2 separate regions of the Homo sapiens genome follow, and region 2 is linked to region 1. The links are contacts of gene promoters, found by promoter capture Hi-C in blood cells and fetal thymus (Javierre and others, 2016). All regions are on one chromosome and are shown on one strand. Each heading gives the region's core, a stretch centred on a gene start or on the middle of the fragment in contact. The rest is flanking DNA. Distances are from core to core; before and after follow the strand shown. Region 1 holds the start of ZAR1L (zygote arrest 1 like). Region 2 overlaps RXFP2 (relaxin family peptide receptor 2).

Region 1 (5,008 bases), core at 2,509-5,008:
CAGAGAGCACTGCACAGCCTTGTCCACCCGCGGGCTCACCTGCACGCCCACCTCCTTGGTGTTGGGCTTGCACAGCCGCGGGCTCAGGCTGGGGTTCATCTGGGAGAGAATGGCCTTAAGCTGCGCCCTCTTGTAAGGGTCAATGCAGTAGTCAGGGGCGTTCGCGGGCACCAGCAGCCCTGGCCTGGCCAGAAAAGTGGGAGGACCCATATTTTGCCTCCAGTCGGGCTGTTTGTGCCCTGAGAGTCCAGGCTGGCCCAAAGGCACTGTGCTCCCATAACCCTGGTACAAGCCATAGGGAACACGGACAAAGCGCTCCATCCGCTCTCAGGTGCTCAGGCGCAGTCTAATATCCTAGCCAGTTTGTTTGGGTCCTTATTTTGCCTTCCTCCTTCATCCGCCCCTTCTTTCTCTTCATCAGGTTGGTTCAGATTCATTCCTGGCTTCTCCATTTATTTCAGATTCTAATGGGAGCTGCTGCTTATTACCCTGATTGAGGGAGAGAAGCTCTATCTACAGATGTCTAATTGCCACCTGATTCCTACCTAATTGCTTTTCCCTACCTCTTCACTGTTCGGGAATCTTTTTTTCAAAGCTGTTTTTCATTTCCAGCTTATTCACACATATGCTTTAATTAGTGATTAATTCATATATTCCTGTAGTGACCATTCTAAAGATCCTTTGTAAGGTAATGTGGTAATGTTAGATAATGTTTTAAGGTACAGCCATTATGGACAACAGTATGAAGGTTCCTTAAAAAAGTTAATAGAAGTACCAGATAATCCAGTAATCCCACCACTGCGTATTTACCCAAAGGAAATGAAATCAATATCCTGAAGAGATACCTTCACTTCCTTGTTCGTTGTAGCATTATGCACAATAGCCAAGTTATGGAAACAATCTAAGTGTCTGTTAACAGAAAAATGGATAGAGAAATTGTGGCATGTATTTATACAATGGAATATTATTCAGCCTTAAAACAGGAGATCCTGGCCAGGCGCGGTGGCTCACACCTGTAATCCCAGCAGTTTGGGAGGCCGAGGCAGGCAGATGACCTAAGGTCAGGAGTTCGAGACCAACCTGGCCAACATGATGAAACCCTGCCTCTAATAAAAATACAAAAATCAGCCGGGTATGGTGGCACGCTCCTGTAATCCCAGCTACTCGGGAGGCTGAGGCTGGAGAATCACCTGAACCCGGGAGGCAAAGGTTGCAGTGAGCTGAGATCACACTACTGCACTCCAGTCTGGGCAACAGAGAGAGAAAGACTCCGTCTCAAACAAACAAACAAACAAAAAACAGGAGATCCTGCCATTTGCAACAACATGGGTGAAACTGGGGAACATTATGCTAAGTGAAATAAGCCAGATAGAAAAATACTGCATAAACTCACTGATATGTGGAATCTGAAAAAGTCAAATACATAGAAGCAGAAAGTAGAATGGTGGTTACCAGGGACAGGAAGTTGGGGGGAATGGAGAGAGACTGGTCAGAGCCTAAAATGTTACAGTTAGGTAGAATGAATGAGTCTAGAGATCTAATTTACAGCATAACGACTACAGTTAACAATACTGTATTTTATACTGAAAAGTTTCAAAGAGAAATTTCAGGTGCTCTCACCGCACACAAAAGAAAGGTAATTATGTGAACAGATGGATATGTTAATTGCTTGACTATAGTAATCATCTCACTGTGTACATATACATGTTGTGCACATTAAATATATACAACTTTTAGGAAATAATGGTTTTTTGGGTTTTTGTTTGTTTGCTTGTTTGAAATGGAGTTTCCTTGCTCTGTCTCCCAGGCAGGAGTGCAGTGGCATGATTTCGGCTCACTGCAACTTCCGCCTCTGGGGTTCAAGTGATTCTCCCACCTCAGCCTCCCAAGTAGCTGGGATTACAGGCACATGCCACCACACCCAGTTAATTTTTGTATTTTTAGTAGAGACAGGGTTTTGCCATGTTGGCCAGGCTGGTCTCGAACTCCTGACCTCAGGTGATCTGCCCACCTTGGCCTCCCAAAGTGCTGTGATTACAGGCGTGAGCCACCATGCCCAGCTGGAAATAATGTTTTTAAGAAAAATTAAAGCATATTGTAAATTGAATACAAATAGTAAATTGAGCAGCTGCACTAGAAGAGAATAGGTGAGAAAGTCTATTATGGTGGAGCTAATAAGTTGCAAGTCCCTGGTACAAAGAGAACAAGAAACATAAAGGTATGGGGGGCTGTATAAAATGACAGAAAATGTTATTTCTGAGACTTGTGTGACATGCCACGGGTTCTCATTAGTCCACTCCTAGTGAGACACCCCTCCCCCACAAAAAGGGGACAAAGCATATTGTTCTGATTTATAGGGTAAATAAATCACAGGTTAGTTAAGTGTATGAAGTCAAATGGACTAGAATTCAAACCTGGGCCTTACTACCAGGCACATTACTTAACTACTTGATTCAGTATCCTCATCTGACAATACTGACCAATTTACAGGATTACTGTAAGATTAAACATGGTATTGCTTGAAAACCCAAAGCAGAATGCCTAACTCATAAAATGTTTGGTAAGTGGCAGCTGTTATTAGTAAGGATCACAGACGTATTTCTTTGCGAATTAGACTTAGAGCAAAAGCTTTAGAATCTATCTGCATTAGTAAGGCCTCCTTCTACAACTAAGGATTACTGATTATCAAACTAAAATGGTCCCTAAGGAACCAAGCGGAGCCCACCCTTTTCCTAATCCAAGGTTGCTTCTGTTTACTGCTCAAGCACCTTCTGGAAGCAGCAAGGCCCCCATGGGAGCAACTCTCACTGAATCCATTTGAAGGTTTTGTAGGTCTTACAACAAACCCTATTCAGCCTTGTATTAGGCATGTTACAGAACCAACGAATTCGGAGATGAAGTCAGGTCTTCCAGTTCAGCCTGCGAGGAAGACAGGTGATCCGAATCCTAAGAATGCAAAAGATGGGCCGGGTGTGGTGGCTCATGCCTGTAATCCCAGCGCTTTGGGAGGCCGAGGCAGGCAGATCACCTGAGGTCGGGAGGTTGAGACCAGACTGACCAACAACGGAGAAACCCCGTCTCTACTTAAAAATGCAAAGTTAGCCGTGCGTGGTGGCCCATGCCTGTATTCCCAGCTACTCGGGAGGCTGAGGCAGGAGAACCACTTGATCCCTGGAGGCGGAAGTTGCGGTGAGCGGAGATTGCGCCATTGCACACCAGCCCGGGCCACAAGAGCGAAACTCCGTCTCAAAAAAAAAAGCAAAAGATACTACCAAGCCCTGCGGAGCAAGGTACCTCACACTTCATGAGCGAGTTAAGATGGGTTTCACAATTTTTCAAGCAAGGAAACGGGCTCGGAGGTCTTGAACACCTGCTACCCAATAGCAGAACAGCTACTGGAACTAAAATCCTCTGATTTCAAATAACAGCCCCGCCCACTACCACTAAGTGAAGTCATCCACAACCACACACCGACCACTCTAAGCTTTTGTAAGATCGGCTCGCTTTGGGGAACAGGTCTTGAGAGAACATCCCTTTTAAGGTCAGAACAAAGGTATTTCATAGGTCCCAGGTCGTGTCCCGAGGGCGCCCACCCAAACATGAGCTGGAGCAAAAAGAAAGGGATGGGGGACTTGGAGTAGGCATAGGGGCGGCCCCTCCAAGCAGGGTGGCCTGGGACTCTTAAGGGTCAGCGAGAAGAGAACACACACTCCAGCTCCCGCTTTATTCGGTCAGATACTGACGGTTGGGATGCCTGACAAGGAATTTCCTTTCGCCACACTGAGAAATACCCGCAGCGGCCCACCCAGGCCTGACTTCCGGGTGGTGCGTGTGCTGCGTGTCGCGTCACGGCGTCACGTGGCCAGCGCGGGCTTGTGGCGCGAGCTTCTGAAACTAGGCGGCAGAGGCGGAGCCGCTGTGGCACTGCTGCGCCTCTGCTGCGCCTCGGGTGTCTTTTGCGGCGGTGGGTCGCCGCCGGGAGAAGCGTGAGGGGACAGATTTGTGACCGGCGCGGTTTTTGTCAGCTTACTCCGGCCAAAAAAGAACTGCACCTCTGGAGCGGGTTAGTGGTGGTGGTAGTGGGTTGGGACGAGCGCGTCTTCCGCAGTCCCAGTCCAGCGTGGCGGGGGAGCGCCTCACGCCCCGGGTCGCTGCCGCGGCTTCTTGCCCTTTTGTCTCTGCCAACCCCCACCCATGCCTGAGAGAAAGGTCCTTGCCCGAAGGCAGATTTTCGCCAAGCAAATTCGAGCCCCGCCCCTTCCCTGGGTCTCCATTTCCCGCCTCCGGCCCGGCCTTTGGGCTCCGCCTTCAGCTCAAGACTTAACTTCCCTCCCAGCTGTCCCAGATGACGCCATCTGAAATTTCTTGGAAACACGATCACTTTAACGGAATATTGCTGTTTTGGGGAAGTGTTTTACAGCTGCTGGGCACGCTGTATTTGCCTTACTTAAGCCCCTGGTAATTGCTGTATTCCGAAGACATGCTGATGGGAATTACCAGGCGGCGTTGGTCTCTAACTGGAGCCCTCTGTCCCCACTAGCCACGCGTCACTGGTTAGCGTGATTGAAACTAAATCGTATGAAAATCCTCTTCTCTAGTCGCACTAGCCACGTTTCGAGTGCTTAATGTGGCTAGTGGCACCGGTTTGGACAGCACAGCTGTAAAATGTTCCCATCCTCACAGTAAGCTGTTACCGTTCCAGGAGATGGGACTGAATTAGAATTCAAACAAATTTTCCAGCGCTTCTGAGTTTTACCTCAGTCACATAATAAGGAATGCATCCCTGTGTAAGTGCATTTTGGTCTTCTGTTTTGCAGACTTATTTACCAAGCATTGGAGGAATATCGTAGGTAAAAATGCCTATTGGATCCAAAGAGAGGCCAACATTTTTTGAAATTTTTAAGACACGCTGCAACAAAGCAGGTATTGACAAATTTTATATAACTTTATAAATTACACCGAGAAAGTGTTTTCTAAAAAATGCTTGCTAAAAACCCAGTACGTCACA
Region 2 (5,771 bases), core at 916-3,415, 510 kb before region 1:
CCGTCTCTACTGAAAATATATAAAAAATTAGCCGGGCATGGTGGCAGGTGCCTGTAGTCCCAGCTACTCAGGAGGCTGAGGCAGGAGAATGGCATGAACATAAGAGGTAGAGCTTGCAGTGAGCCGAGATCGTGCCACTGCACTCCAGCCTGGGCGACAGAGTGAGACTCCATTTCAAAAACAAAACAAAACAAAAACAAAAAGAAGTCTCATTCAGAGTAGAACTTAAGTCTATGGCCATACCACCCTGAACATGCCTGATTTCATTCAGAGTGGAACTTACGTGGCCTATTTGCCTTTGCCTAATTGAAAGCAGGCACTATCAGGCATTGTTTTTCTGTGAGATTGGGGTGGGATTCGTGATCACAATTCCCTTTGTGGGCACAACAGAAAAAGGCCACTTATTTTGTTTTTCTTCAATCACTAACTGTTCAGATTGTCTAATTTTTTTAAATTAGGGACAAATAATATAAAACTTAATTTAAGACAGGCTAAAACATAATTTTTTTCTTTCATATTCCTTTCAGTTAAAAAATAAGGACAAGGAAGAGAAGATAGGATAGGAAGAGAGGAAGGTAAATATAGAAAAGGAGAGGAAAGAGATCAAAGGAAAAGAAGAAGGAAGGTCAGATAAGCAGTCAGAGAAGAAATGGAAAAGGAAGAAGACATAGAGAGGAAGAACAGAAAGATACAAGAAATAAGGCAGGGTCAAGAGAAGAACAAAATAACAGTGGCTGAAGGATAAAAAAAATTATGAGATTGCGAAGGAGGAGAGCAGAGGATGATGAGAGAAAGCATCATGGGTCTTACTAGCCACCTCTTCACCTGAATGGGGAGTTCCTTGAAATTGTGAAGATGTGAGAGGAAGTAGCGTCCTGTGGTAAGGTTTGAGGATCTCAAGTCTTAGTACCAAAAAAGCACATCAGCAGAGCTGACTCTGGCCCAGCCCGCTGGATTCAGTGAGCAAGTTATCACCAGCCCCCTTTAACAGAGAGAGCAGATGAAGTTGAGGAAGCATAAGTGATTCGCTCACACTCAACCTAGCTAAGTGTCCGGCCACAGGATCAGGCCACGTGTAAAGGGAAAGATGCATTTTGTGCTAACCAAGCAAATGAAATGATGCTCTCAGGAAGGACACTATCATTCCAAATTTCACCTCACAAAGAACTTCTTGTGACCTCTTTCCCTGAATATTCTATTAGCATTTGTAGGGCTGCACACAAGAGAATTTCATCAAGTTTAGGGAATGCATTCCTCTTTGCTCTTCAAAGCTTTTAATAGGATAACAGGATAACCAGAACACCAGGGCAGGGCAATAAGCTTTGAGAACTGGATGGAGTTAAGACCAAGGTCAGATCTGGCTTGGTCCAGGGGACCAGAAGTTTTGTGAACCTCACTCTATTGACTAAAGATTATTTCTTTATTTTTTTATTTTCCTATAAAGGAAGGTGATAAAATAGGAAAAAATGCATTATATAGCAATTTATAGTTTACAAAATGTTTTCACATATTTCCTGTTAATATCACAATGACCTTCACATTATTTACTGAAACTCAGAAAAGTTAAATCGTTAAGACCTTGAATTCATAGCTTCTGTGCTCTTCCAACAAAGATTTTCCTTCAGGTGAGAGAAAACTTAAAATGTACTATGTCTCCCTCTCATAAATAGCATTGACTGCAAAGTGTTATTTGTATTTTATGTCTATTTAAAACTTCAACTTTTTTTTCACACTTTGCTTCCTTTTCCAGACACAATGACTTCCTGGATAGTGATTTTTTTCCTTCCAGTTAACAGTGCTTTGAATCCAATCCTCTATACTCTCACAACCAACTTTTTTAAGGACAAGTTGAAACAGCTGCTGCACAAACATCAGAGGAAATCAATTTTCAAAATTAAAAAAAAAAGTTTATCTACATCCATTGTGTGGATAGAGGACTCCTCTTCCCTGAAACTTGGGGTTTTGAACAAAATAACACTTGGAGACAGTATAATGAAACCAGTTTCCTAGCAATCATTTTGGATCACTGGACTTTCAGTGGACTACCTAAAACAGGGGACAGCTTTTGGAAGATGACATCTGCAATGCTTTTCATCTTTACCAACGGCAAGCCTTTCTGCACAGAGAGCACAGCAGAATGGCTCCTGTCACTGCATTCCAATGGCAGCTGTACTATCTACCAACCATGCTGAGGACAGCACCAAAGGTTCCTCTCCTCACCCCACATGCCTGAAAAGCACATGTGAATTCGTGTATAGTGGGCTGAGGTGCAGCTGATCTCTAGCTAATCAACACAACCCACCAACAAATGACCACAGGTTGGCACTGTGTGGTCTTTCACATCGGGTTGCACTGTCCATGAAATAGAAACACTCACAACATCTGATTCCAGTGTGGCCATAATAACAGAAATCTAACAACTCTTTCCTTGCCTTTTCAATATCAAATAAAACCATCAGCATCCTGCTGGATTGATAGCAAAGGATTTCCAAAATATTCATCTACCCGAAGTCCTCCTCTGTGAAGGCCGGTGGAGTAGCCACTTTGAAAACAGAACTTCCAACCAGGTTACCATGTCTAACCTATGACCAGAGAGTCACACTGATGAAGCCTCATACCATTTGCCTTTTGGATTTTATTTAATATCAGAAGAGATGAATTCTTAAGATATTTTTCTGAAGGTTGCCCAGGGCACAAACAAATTGGACACTTTCACTGCTAAAAAGTACACTTTAATATTCTTAAAGTATAATTTCTTTAGAGCAGTATCCCTATTGCTGGCAAGTTCTGCTTTCATAAAATATGCAGATAAGAAGTGTTAAATGGGATTCAAGAATTATGGTTTTATTTGGGACTGTTTGCATACTCACAATGGTTTTGTTCTCATTGTTTTTAACAAAAAAGCAATGAAGTTTGGGGTGGTTTTTTGAAAACGAAACTGAAAAAAATTATATGTGAAAATGAGAACTGGGTAAATAAAATTATATTTTGCACTTGTCCATATATTAATTTAAGCTTAACAAAGACCATGGATGGGGTTTGTTGACTGTTAAGCATGTTTCTCCTGATAAAGAATACAGCCAGGAAACACAGCATTTCAGTTCACAAGACACATCCTATATTTTTCTCTCTTCCCCTTTTGCCACAGCATGAGGCAGTTACTTAATTTCTTCACTGTTCACTTCATTCTGAGTTCCTTTAATGAGATAAAATGTAAGCAGCTGACTAAGACCACCACAATACCTCCTATTACATATTAAATGGACACCCTTTATCCAGTAGCATCCAGAAGAGAAAGAAATTCAGAGTTTATGGGTCTCAGCCATTCTGGTAATTTACTTGTTATTACTCACTATTGACTAAAATCATAACGTGAGTTCATTCATTTTGATCAAGTAAGATATTTCTCATGTATAATAAAAGATTTTCATTAGGATTCTAGAAATAATGTTCCCACTCATTGACTATGCTACCCTTTCCTTTATGGCTTTAAATTTTTCTCCATCTTGTTTCTTCAGTATGATGAATTGCTTCCTAACTTGTTTTCCAGGTTTGCTGACATTTTATCAGATGTCTTTGCCAGTCCTTGATCATCTTACGATTTATTTCCTAATACATTTTCTAACACCAGGAGCATAAATAAGGGGTAGACCCTGAGCCTAGGGTATTGTAATTTTAGCACCAATGTGTGTCTCCCGTTCTTGAAAAGCATCATCCGTGGTCCATGAACCAAGTCTTTGGGAACCATGTAAGAGCCCGCACTTTACTGTAGTGCAGTGAGTGGGCATGAGAAGAGGCACGCAACCAGATGCTTTGGGGAAGGTGGCAGCTGTATGGAAAAATGGGAGCTCTACATAGGTCAGCAACATGCCAACAAATAGCATGAACTTCATATCTGATAGCTTGGTAATTTATAGTCTTATTCTGTACTGCTCTGCAAATAGAAAACCATTAGAAATTTGTATTATTTTAGTAAATAATAGTCTTTAATGTGGATTGAGTGAGAACTTTTGTGCTAGGCCAAGCCTGTTTTCTAAACATGGTATTTCTGTGTGGTTATGAAAATATCACCTGTGTCCATGAACCATTTTCCATGACAATCTAAGCATCAATTAAATGTCACTGCAGAATTTCAGAGGCCACAGACGGTGCCATCTCTGAGTGGGAGAGGGTGTGGGCAAATCATCTGCTCCACATCCTAACTATGCATCTGTATATGACTGATGTCTTGAAGAGGATAAGAAAAAAATACCCCCAAAAATCAATATGGAGCTTCAGACGAGTGTACAGAAAAAGGGTATGTGTTTTATTTGTGTTAGACATTGATAAGATAGTTTACATAACTTTGCTTCATCCTAGAGGCTTTTGTTCATAGCTTTCATAGCTTTTTTTAATTCAGTAGGCTATTTCAGAAATTGCAATCGACATAAACTATTCTATCAAAAGAGTTCATGTCCATTGCAATTGCTGAAATGCCTCTTGATGGTCAGGAGCTTCAGGATAAATTATATTTATTTGAGCTTTATGTACAGGTAGCACTATCACCTTTCCCCAACCCTACCCTACACCCCAGCTCCACAGCTCCATTCAGCAGGTCTCCATGGCATCATGAAGCCACAAAAGCAGGCCCATCACCCCAAGGTTTATCTCTTAAGGATGACTCTGCTGCCAGATTGAATTCATATTTGGTGATTTGCTACAGATTTGCTCATGCTACATTTTCAAGACTTTATCTCACCCAAGGTAAAGACTTACCTTACCATCCTCAAGTTAGTAAGCAATACAGAGCTCCCGAGAGTGCACATGATAGAAAGGAGAAACCATAGAGTGTCACCAATCATATCTAACCTATTATTTTATAAATGGCCCAAGGGGAGCTGACAGAAATATATCTTCCAAAATTAACCAGAAATACTTTAAGGCACATTCCTTTTTCATTGTTTTCAATGTAGCATAAATGGGCACTTACAAAGTTGCCTTAGACAACTTCACTCAAGAAACAAAATATTAATTAAAGATAAGAATTTGTATTTCCTTATTCCCTTACCCTGTTGAATAAAGAAAGGGAGAGCCATTACAAAGATCTGCTTATATATTTGCCTGTTTATATGTCAGGTTTTTGTTTTTGTTTTTGTTTTTGAGACGGAGTCTCACCCTGTCGCCCAGGCTGGAGTGCAGTGCCACAATCTCGGCTCACTACAAGCTCCACCTCCTGGGTTCACGCCATTCTCCTGCTTCAGCCTCCTGAGTAGCTGGGACTACAGGTGCCCACCACCACGCTTGGCTAATTTTTTGTATTTTTAGTAGAGATGGGGTTTCACCGTGTTAGCTAGGATGGTCTCAATCTCCTGACCTCGTGATCCGCCCGCCTCGGCCTCCCAAAGTGCTGGGATTATAAGCGTGAGCCACCGCACCCGGCCTATATATCAGTTTTCTGACATTCTGTTTATGCAGGATGTAAGATGCATATTTAGTAATGATCATTTTCATTTTTGAGCCAGGAAAATTAAATGAAATTAGACTATTCTCTTTTTAAAGGGCTTTTCAGTAGGAGACTTCGAAGTCCTTGAGAAATACTTCCTAAAGCCCTATAAACTAATAGAACCTATTACTCAACGTATTTCATTAGAATTGTCTTCAGGATATTTCCCCACATCCCGCATACGGAAGAAGTAAATTAAAAATGAAGAAATTGGGAAGAATAAGGCCAAGTTACAAAACTGCACATCCAGAAATGTGAACCTTCTGCTGTCTGAAGCCCATGGTGACAT

The links. The method cuts DNA at HindIII sites, captures the fragments that hold promoters and counts their contacts. A CHiCAGO score of 5 or more calls a contact.
Region 2: a contact is called between a fragment that was not itself captured here and the fragment with the promoter of ZAR1L in region 1, in 1 of 17 cell types (M2 macrophages). The highest score is 5.7, in M2 macrophages.

Annotation. Positions count from the first base shown.
Region 1 is chr13:32,311,605-32,316,612 of GRCh38, forward strand. ZAR1L (zygote arrest 1 like) reads right to left here and starts at 3,759. Exons shown (of 6, transcript NM_001136571.2): 1 at 3,711-3,759; 2 at 2,726-2,946; 3 at 1-489. The coding sequence starts at 321. It overlaps BRCA2 (BRCA2 DNA repair associated), which reads left to right and starts at 3,904. Exons shown (of 27, transcript NM_000059.4): 1 at 3,904-4,063; 2 at 4,818-4,923. The coding sequence starts at 4,857. RefSeq lists a silencer at 2,955-3,175, a cis regulatory region at 3,294-3,360, a promoter at 3,689-4,185 and an enhancer at 4,294-4,563. The HindIII fragment of the contact is 7,545 bases long and covers 3,483-5,008 here.
Region 2 is chr13:31,800,396-31,806,166 of GRCh38, forward strand. RXFP2 (relaxin family peptide receptor 2) reads left to right here. Exons shown (of 18, transcript NM_130806.5): 18 at 1,751-2,994. The coding sequence ends at 2,010. The region is part of intron 2 of LOC105370152 (a long non-coding RNA gene); the gene reads right to left. Among named protein-coding and RNA genes, the nearest start is that of RXFP2, 64 kb to the left of the region's middle. The HindIII fragment of the contact is 1,695 bases long and covers 1,319-3,013 here.